Regions from separate parts of the Homo sapiens genome. Here region 2 is linked to region 1. Evidence: promoter capture Hi-C in 16 types of primary human blood cells and fetal thymus (Javierre and others, 2016). All regions are on one chromosome and are shown on one strand. The core of a region is centred on a gene start or on the middle of the fragment in contact, and the rest is flanking DNA. Distances in the headings are between cores, read along the strand shown.

Region 1 (4,930 bases), core at 392-2,891:
GCGAAGCCGATTAGTCTAGCGGCCTCCGGCCGTTGGGAAGCGGGCATCGGGCCAGAAGGCAGAAGGCTGAGAAGCCCCGCCCGTAAGCAGAGGCAATCTGGAGCTATGCAGCTCAGTGGGTGAGAGGGAGGGAGCTGGGATTCAGACTTCAGACCTAATGAATGCCCCGAAGCAGACGCCAGCAACGTGAAGCCTAGCTGGCAGCCTCCCAGGTCTGGCGCGCAGCCAGCGCCAGACTTTAAATCGCAATACTAGAAACCAGGGCCTGTTAACCAACCGGGAGGGAGGCGCACGGTGTGGCTTCGGCCGTGATCCTTGTTGCAAAGGCCTGTCAGGCCCAGTATGAAGAAATAGTTTCAGTACAGGGAGTGTAGAAATAGCTGCAGAAGGCCTGAGGCCTGCAGCCCTAGAGTTAATAGCTACTTGGTGGAACCCTCGAATTCTTTCCACCTTGTTAATCCAACCCTGCACTGCATTCGCTGGAGGAAATATCACAGGCTGCATCCCCAAAGTATCACGTCTAGTTTTGACACCACTCCAAAGGGCAAAAATCCGAGAGGACCTCTAGGCAGGCAGTCAGCCCAGAGTCACCAAGCTGGAGCCGGGTCTCTCCTTACAAATCACTGCTATTTCTAGACAGCCTTGTAAGGTTTCTAGCCTGGCAGGGGGAAGGGAGTTCCTGCGGACACCTGCTAGCTTCACTGAACGGCCCCGGGATCCAATGCTACCTTTAATGTAGGGGCGGAGGTGGGAGGGCATGGGATGAGGGAAGGGTGCGTCTAGAGGCGAGAGACATGCAAAAACGAGTTCTACACCTCACCTCTGCCTCCTACTCACTGGGAACTTAGAGATCCCTGACTGTCTCCTAGCTTTCGGTCTCCCTATTTGTTAAAAGGAGGAGTTGGTACCGGCGGATCCTACTCAACTGACCGTCTGAGGTGCGGAAGGGCTGGGATGCTGCCTGCTTCATCTTTGCATGCGCCGTGCCTAGCGCAGCCCGAGATACACCAGTAGCTTCTTAATAAATGCGCAAAGGGCTCCCTATAATCTGCAGGCAGCAGCTGCCCTCACGGAGCCCACCTCTCGAGCGTCCCAAGAGAAAAATGCAAGCCGCGTGGTACTCAGCCGCTTTCCGTCTTTCAAGAACCCGCCCCGGACAAGCTGAGGCTTTTTTGGCTCTATGGGCTCCGAGAACTGGACCTCGAGTTTTGCACCGCCCGCCGATTTCGAGCCCAGAGGTATCCCCCACCCTTAAGGCCTATCATATCCTTGTTCCGCATCCACCCGGGCTTTCGACCCCTGCTTGGGTGCGGCCACCTCCTCGGTTCCCCAGCGTGGCCAGAAGCCATGGTTCCCGCTTAGAGCAAAAGCAGAGCGCGGCGAGCTCCGAACACATGCGTTGTGTGGGCCGCCGCCCAGACGTCTCTGGGCTGTGCTTCTGGAAAGCGGCTCCTACACCTCCCGGGAGCAGGAATCCCTTCGCGAGCAGCGGAGGCCAGCAGAACCAGAGGCAGTTGGCTCTACCCGCCCATCCCTCTGGCGCCGTGCGCGCAGGGCCCTACCGTACCGGGAATGCACGTCGGGCGGTCGTCGGGGGCGCGTGGCAATGAGATCCGGAATCGGCGGCAGCGGCTGCAGCACTCTGAGCTGGGCGCGGGAGGGGCCTTAAGTGGAACAGCTATGCTGACGTCAGCGGGGGGGGCCGGCGGACGTGCGGGAACCCACGTGTGAGTCGGGCTGGGGGTGGATGCCGAGCCAGGCGGGGCACTGGAGAGGCCCGGGTGGCGCGCGCAGCCAGACAACCGACCGGCAGACTGCTCCACGTGCGCTGGGAGTCTAAGTAAGGTGCTGCCCTCCAACCACAGAAGCCGGGGTCGGAGCCATGAGCCTGAGTCAGGACGACCTTCAGTTTCCTCATCCATGAAACCTGGGGAGGTTACTCTCAGGAAGGCTTGGATCTGTTTCTTCTTCATCCCTGTTTCTCAGTGTCCAGAACAGCTTCTGGCACGTAATAGGCACTCCACAAATATTTGTTGAACGAAAGGAAGAAAATGCCTAGCAGTCAGTCAGTCTGTTCTTACCTAAGTCGAGTGACCTCCAAAACTCGACGCTGCTTTTCCCTCTGCTGCTAAGCCTACCAGCTCCCACTCACAGTGAAGCCTTGGCCTCTCAGGCCTTGCAGGGTGACTCAGTTCAAATGTACATTTTATTCTGCACTTTCTACTGCCCACCCCACTGGCATCTCATCTCGAGTCTCAACCATACCCAAGAACTGTCAGTGGCTTGTTTTTTTGGTTTTGGTTTTTTGTTTGTTTATTTGTTTTTTGGTATTTTTCGAGACAGGGTCTCACTCTGTCACCCAGGCTGGAGGGCAGTGGCGTGATCATGGCTTCCTGCAGCCTCGACCTTCTGGCTCAAGCGATCCTCCCACCTCGGCTCCCCGAAGTGACTGGGACTACAAGCGCGCCCACTTGCCCTGCGATTTTTTTTTTAATTATTAATTTTTTTTTTTTTGAAACGGAGTCGCTCTGTCGCCCAGGCTGGAGTGCAGTGGGCTGATCTCGGCTCACTGCAACCTCCGCCTCCCGGGTTCAAGCGAATCTCCTGCCTCAGCCTCCTGAGAAGATGGGATTACAGCCAGGCGCCACCACGCCCGGCTAATTTTTGTAATTTTTAGTAGAGACGGGGTTTCACCATGTTGGTCAGGCTGATCTCAAACTCCTGGCCTCAAGTGATCTGGCCGCCTCGGCCTCACAAAGAGCTGGGATTACAGGCGTGAGCCACCGTGCCCAGCTCAATTTTTTGTTTTCTTATCATACTTACCTCTGGGCCTGTATTCTTGCTGATTCCATTGCCTAGCCCGCCCTCCTCCATCTCTTCTTTAATTTGTACCAATACTTCCCCACTGTGGGGTATATTATGAAATATATTTGGTAAGCCCTTGAGTATGCCAAAATTTCCTGAATTTTCTGATAGGAATGTCTTTTGTTATTTATAAAGAGCCTTTTTCCCTGACTTAATGTTAATGAATGAGGAGTCTTAGATAGCCTCAGGAAGGAGCCAGTCATGGGAAAGACCAAATGATTAGGGAATTAGAGGGCTGGAACTTTCAGCCCAAAGGGGTGGATGGCTTTACTTACTCCCTGAACCTACAGCAGCAGCCCAGTGCAGCTTTGAGATAGATCCATAACTGAGTTTCTTGGTTTTGACGGAAAACTCTAACCTCAGCTCCAAAATAGCACAAGGGGCCAGGTGCAGTGACTCATGCCTGTAATCCCAGCACCAATGTGGTTGAGGTGGGAGGACTGCTTGAGGCCAGGAGTTCGAGACTAGCCTGGGCAGCATAGTGAGACCCTGTCTCAAAAAAAAAAAAAAAATAGCAGGGCATGCTTGCATGTTCTAACAGTTTTCCCATCACTCTAGATTCTAAGATCACTCTAGGTTCTGAAATGGGGCTCTCACCTCAAACACACAGCTGGAAAGTTTAGGGGTGGGCCACTGATTCTTCAGAGTACCTCAGGGCAGGGCAGATTGCCACAGTGTTTTCCGGTTTCTCAGTCTTTGCAACAGTGTTCTCAGTCAGGGCTGGGCCCCTGCCTGCCTACCAAATGTGACCACTGCTGCTGGGAAGAGGTGTGCAGAAGGCAGAGAGCTGAAGTTGGCTGGGGAGACGAAGAATTTTCACCTGAAAGGCTTGGGTTGGGGCACTCTGAGATGACCTGTGAAGATAAACTAGGTAGAGTCTTCATTCCCCTAATTTATGATACCTAGCAACAGCTTGCTCCAAGCACAGCTTCAGGCTTCTTAGGCAGAACAACAGCCAGTATTTGACTCCACAAATATGAATAAAACAAATACCATTTACTGAGCACCTGCTATGGTGCTGGCAGCCAGCTAGGTAATCCCCATACTCATCCTTTGGAGTAGGCATAATTATCCCCATTTTTCAGATATGGAAACCAAGGCTCAGAAAGGTAAGTGACTTTGCTAAGGTAGTGCAGCTAGTAAGTGATTTTGGCTGAGACTTTAACCCAGTGCTGACTAACCCCAAAGCCTATGATTTTCTCTCTATTATAGGATGTTGTCCCACATCACTCCATACAAAGGGCAAGAAATTATCTAGGGGGCCCAAACCAGTCCCAGGCTCAGAAGAGGCTGTGGGTGCCAATGGGTGTATCTGCTGAGACCTTGGTATTCTGCCCTTAGACTGGGACTTAGACCCTTGGCTCTCCTGATTCTCAGGCCTTTGGGCTCGAACTGGAATTTATACCACCAGCTTTCCTGAGTCTCCAGCTTGCAGATGGCAAGATCATGGGACTTCTCTGCCTGCATAAACACATAAGTAAATTCCTCCTCATAAATCTCTTTATATATATTCTTCCATTGGTTCTGTTTCTCTGGAGAACCCTGACTAATATAGAACCCTGACTAATACAATCCAAACAGTAGAACTTCTGTACTAAAGCCAGAGAAGAATGTGGAACCCTTGGAACAGGTCAGAAAACACTTTCAGGGGACAGAACAGAATTCTTAATCTGACCAAGTGTTCTTTGGATGTGGCCTCTTCAAAAGGGAAAACCCCTAGCACAGTCACTATGGAAAACAGTATGGAGACCCCTCAAAAAACTAAAACTGCAACTTCCATATGATCCAGCAATCTGAGTATATATCCAAAAGAAACGAAATCAGTATATCAAACAGATATCTGCACTCCCATGACTATTGCAGCACTATTCACAATAGCTGAAGTATGGATGAACTCAATCTAAGTGTCATCAATGGATGGATGATAAAGAAAATGTGTTGGCCAGGTGCAGTGGCTCATGCCTCTAATCCCAGCACTTTGGGAGGCCGAGGTGGGCGGATTACCTGAGGTCAGGAGTTCAAGACCGGCCTGACCAACATGATGAAACCCCATCTCTACTAAATA
Region 2 (4,930 bases), core at 798-3,297, 710 kb before region 1:
TTGTAACAGCCTTGTGAAGTAGTCAGAACAGGGATTAGCATCCCACTTTGTAGACATGGCTCAGGAAGTTTAAGCAATTGGCTGACAATATCAGGCTAGAGAATACTGAAGAGCTGAGGCCAAAAACATTCAATGACAAGGGCAGCGATGTTTCCTTGTCAATATCACCACTGACAAAAATTAAGTTCAGAGCCCAGGAACTAGCCACAGGTTCAGGGCCTTTCAAAACTTCATACAGCTACTTTTTCAAAGATATTTTCAAATATGCCCACTTGGGGAAATCAAGGTGGGTCATAGGTTTTAGAGGCTCATTTTCTGCATCTTCCCAGGAAGAGACTGTACCACTTTGAGCTTTCATGTTCTCATCTATAAAATGGGAATAGTAATAGTACCCACTTCATAGAGGATTCAATAAAAGTGTTAAACAAAAAAAAAAAAATGTATATGATATGCAGTACAGTAAGTGCTCTACAAATGTTGGCTATTATAAAGGCGGCTGAGAAAAACTGAAATCTTAGGGAAGACTTGGCCTTAACATTGATCCTCATGACCAATTTAATCCAGAGCCTAGCTCCGGAATATTCATGACTTTACAGGAAATACAATGACCAAGGATCCACTCGCCAAAATTCATTTCTAGTTTCAACAGGTGACATTAAACAAGTAATTGTTCTCCTTCCATCACCAGCCTGCCCTACACACTAAATTACTTGTGCTCATGAGAAAAGCTGCATTCCCCTCAGCTCTGCTTTCATGGAAGAACAAGCGCTGGTTTAATCTCTTGTTGACTGCTGCTCTAATTATAGTGATAGAGTGGTGTCCCTGGTAATGGGCCAAGCTGGCCAGCTGTGTTGCAAGTTGTTCAAGATACAGAAGGTGGCACCATCTGAGGCCAAATGGTTACCTTTCATCTCAGTTTCTATATAAAATAATTCTGCATTGTGCTTTGCATAGATGGTGAAACATGGCAAAATCAGGATTTCCCAAGCTGAAGGCGCTGGGATCATTCCCAAGGCTACTGAGTTGCTAATGTATCTGATTTCTGGACATGTGGATTGTTGCAAGCAAGGGCAATAGGCATGATGGCAGGAGAGGCAGAACACTGAATAAAATGATAGATTGGAATTCTGCAGGAAGAGGAGGAGGAGAAGAATCGGATGTTACCCCTTGTACAAAACGTCCCATTATCCCCGGGACTGTGGTGACTGATATCCTCTACAGCCCCTCAGCATTCTGGCATGGTGCTTGTCTTGCTATATTGTAACTGCCTGTTTACTCCTCTGCCTCTGCCTCTGCCTCCAGCTTGTCTGTGAGTTAAGGGTTCTTTCTGTCATCGTTGCATCCCCAGAGCCTAGTACAGAACATACACAGGTAGGTATTTTATAAATACTTGTTGAGTGAGGGATAAAAATTGTCAGGAAACTCATTATTAGGACATGGTTGGGTAGGAACGGGGAAGGAAGCACTAAATTTGAGGTTAATCGGGGCATGGTGCCTCCTAATTTCAGTTAGTCATATGACTCATTTTCAAATTTCACACGTCCTGCCCCCACTCAGAGTTGGTTCAGGAGAAAGATGGCCCACCAGTTACCCTTTCTGTGGGAAGCTGGAGGAGCAACGGTGGTGCTCATGGCACAGGCGCTGACACCAGCCGTATCAGAAACTCAAGTGTCTTAAGGCTGTGGGGGCCACACCTGACCCCAACAGGAAGAGCTCTCAGGCTGGCATGTCCCCAGGATGGGGCAAATTAGAAAGGAGGTTCAAGACACAGTGTCACTAGGGACCTGGATCCAGGGCACTAGAGGCCAGGCCTCCAGCTGTGATCACAGCTGGGCCACATTACAGACCCACAGAAGGCCTATGGCAAGATCCCACCCTTCCTTGGCTCAGCTTCTTCCTCTACCAGCCTGACGGGAAGTTGCACATGGAGGAAGAACTGTGCAAGCAGTGAAAGGAGCACCGGGCTGGGCATCAGGAGGCCCAGCTTTCAAGTCTTTACACAGCGTGACCAGCTGCCTGACCTCTGGCAAGACAGGGAACCTCTCTGGGTCTTGGTTTCCTCACCTGCAAAATGGAGCTTGGGAAACAGTAGCTCCACGTATGCCACAGATGAGAAAGAAATGAGTCCTCAGCTCCAAGGCCAAGTTAGTTTGATCCCAATTCCAAACATCTATGGACACTTATAGCAGATTGTCCTGTTGGACAGTTGGACTCCTGCCTCAGGACGAGAGAAACAGTCCCACATCTTCCCCTTAGCACAAAGCCTGGGGTGATAGACCCATGGGCGAGGTAAAGGGAGACAGAAGGAAATGCCTCCAAGATGCCTCTCAGAGTGTGGGCACTCCGCCCATTTGTCAGCCCTTCACCTCATGCCCCAGCCGGGTCCTTTCTTTCATGCAGCACTCCCACCAGCCAAGCTCTCCCAGGACAACCTCGGAGGAAGGAGGAAGGGCTCTATTTCCCATTTCATGTTAAGAGCTCAGCCTCAGAGCTGCATGCAGGGCAAGGCCACATACGGCAAACAAAGTGGTGCTGTTAGGGCTTGATCCCACGTGCCGAACACAAGCTCAGCTCCTGTTGTAATTCTCTTAGAGTCTGAGGCGGAATATTAAAATCAGTAAAACTATTTTCAAACAAGCACAGTCATCTTAATTGGATAAAAATGGAGTATTTTTAAAATGATAAACATGAAACTAAAAACTCTGGAAAAGTCTGAGACAGATTAAAATGCTTAAAGACGCATAAAAATGTACAACGTGTCCCTATGGTATGTTCATATTATCAACGTGTTTTGTTTTGTTTCCAACGAACGTGTCTTTTGGCTTAACTTTTTTTTTTCTTTGAGACAGGGTCTCACTCTGTTGCCCAGGCTGGAGTGCAGTGGCATGGTCTCAGCTCGCTGTAGCCTTGACCTCCTGGGCTCAGGTGATCCTCCAGCCTTAGCCTCCTGAGTAACTGGGATCACAGGCACCATGTCTGGCTAATTTTTCAACTTTTTGTAGAGACGGGATCTCACTTTGTTGCCCAGGCTGGTCTCAAACTCCTGGGCTCAAGCAATCCTCCCACATCAGCCTCCCAAAGTGCTGGGATTACAGGTGTGAGCCACTGTGACAGGGCTTAACTTAAAAACAAAACAGTTTACCCTCTGGAATTGATCCAGAATCTTGAGTCAGACTTGCAAGGATTCTAACTTGAGGAAATGGGGTTAGCAGAAAACAAGGAGTAATTTCATAGTTGTAGGATCTTTAGAAATCCTCTACCCAATATGCTCCCTGAGTCAGAGTTCTCTCACTCTCCCACATCCCTTAAAAGCTGTTGGCACTATCTCCTTGAATACCCACAGTGGTGGGATACTCACTACCTTCTATCATACTGGTTACATTGGACAGAAGTATCCCTCACTTTTTTTTTTTTTTTTTTTTTTGAGACGGAGTCTCGCTGTCTCCCAGGCTGGAGTACAGTGGTGCGATTTCAGCTCACTGCAAGCTCCGCCTCCCGGGTTCACGCCATTCTCCTGCCTCAGCCTCCCAAGTAGCTGGGACTACAGGCGCCCGCCACCACCCCCGGCTAAATTTTTTTGTATTTTTAGTAGAGACGGCATTTCACCGTGTTAGCCAGGATGGTCTCGATCTCCTGATCTCGTGATCCGCCTGCCTCGGCCTCCCAAAGTGCTGGGATTACAGGCGTGAGGCACCGCGCCCGGCCAACTATCCCTCACTTTTATGTTTATAATCGGTCCTTTTTCCTTGGTTATGGCGCCACAAAAATTCCAGTGAATTCTCTCTTCTACTTCACCGCCCATTAGATACTTGAATGGATAATGGTACCCCTAAGTGTGTTGTCCCCCTGATTAAACATCCCCAGCTCTTTCAACCATCCCTCAGTTGGTGTGGAAACCAAGTGGAGGAGATGCTGCTGTTGTGGGAGCCAGACAGAGCTAGCTTTATATCCCAGCTCTTGCCAAGTAGCCTTGGCTAAGTCACACAATCTTTCTGCAATTCTACTACTATTTTGTAAGGCTGTTAAGAAGACTAAATGAGAGAATGTGTGTAAAGCATATGGTATGGTGTTTGCCTTAGGGTGGGTGTTTTGTATAGTGATAGGTGCCAATATTGTTATGGGACCAAGGACAACTTATTTGCCATCAAGTCAGAAGAATTCTACATTAAAAAAAGGAATGAGGTTGAGATATCTGGGAATGAAAAGAAAGCTGAGGGTGGGGTGGCCTGGCTAAGGGAGCTTGACAAAGAGGGACTTGAAGTCAAAAAGAGAAGAGACAGATCATAGGAGGCCAAAGATTCTATATAGTGAGGATGAGGATGCCAACTTCATAGTGGTTGGCATTGTGAGGAACAAATTGTTTCATGTATATGAAAGGACTTTGTAGAATAAATGCTCCCCCCTGCTCCCAGAACACCTGGTGCTTTACCACATTATATTAGGACAATTTTTAAATCATATCCCCCAAGACTATAAGTTCATTGTGGTAGGAAAATTTCTTTTTTGTCTGCCCATCTTCCACTGGGGAAGTGCCTCTCCCTTACCCTAAGTGGTTTAGGTGGGATTGTCAATTTCAGTATCCTGCCTGCTATGAGCCATAGGGCTGAGTCCCTGAGCCAGGCCTGACCAATCAAGGTACACCATCATTTTGCCCAGGGGGATTGTCGGGGTGAGGTGGGGGGGAGCATGTGCCCAAAACAGGGCCAATAAGAGTACTTTCATATAATTTGATCTATTGATGCTGTAAAAGCCAAGTTTCTTTCTTTTGAACTATGAATTCTAAGAATATAAACTTGGGGCTAAATTCTGCGTATTCAACAAGTATTTATTGAGAGCCTAAATATCAGCCAGGGTTCACAGGGTCCAGTCATGAGAACACATATCTCTCTAGATATTTTAAATGCGGGAATTTAACATAAGAAAGTGCTTA

Evidence for each region. Contacts are between HindIII fragments. The CHiCAGO score rates a contact against its expected background, and 5 or more counts as called.
Region 2: a contact is called between a fragment that was not itself captured here and the fragment with the promoter of LDHA in region 1, in 1 of 17 cell types (neutrophils). The highest score is 5.7, in neutrophils.

The regions. Positions count from the first base shown.
Region 1 is chr11:18,391,274-18,396,203 of GRCh38, reverse strand. It overlaps LDHA (lactate dehydrogenase A), which reads right to left and starts at 1,641. Exons shown (of 8, transcript NM_005566.4): 1 at 1,568-1,641. RefSeq lists enhancers at 1-281, 1,546-1,635, 1,016-1,681, 1,946-2,035, 1,682-2,346 and a silencer at 736-785. The HindIII fragment of the contact is 13,104 bases long and covers 1-4,930 here.
Region 2 is chr11:19,106,386-19,111,315 of GRCh38, reverse strand. No RefSeq gene overlaps it. Among named protein-coding and RNA genes, the nearest start is that of ZDHHC13, 8.3 kb to the left of the region's middle. The HindIII fragment of the contact is 5,919 bases long and covers 1-4,930 here.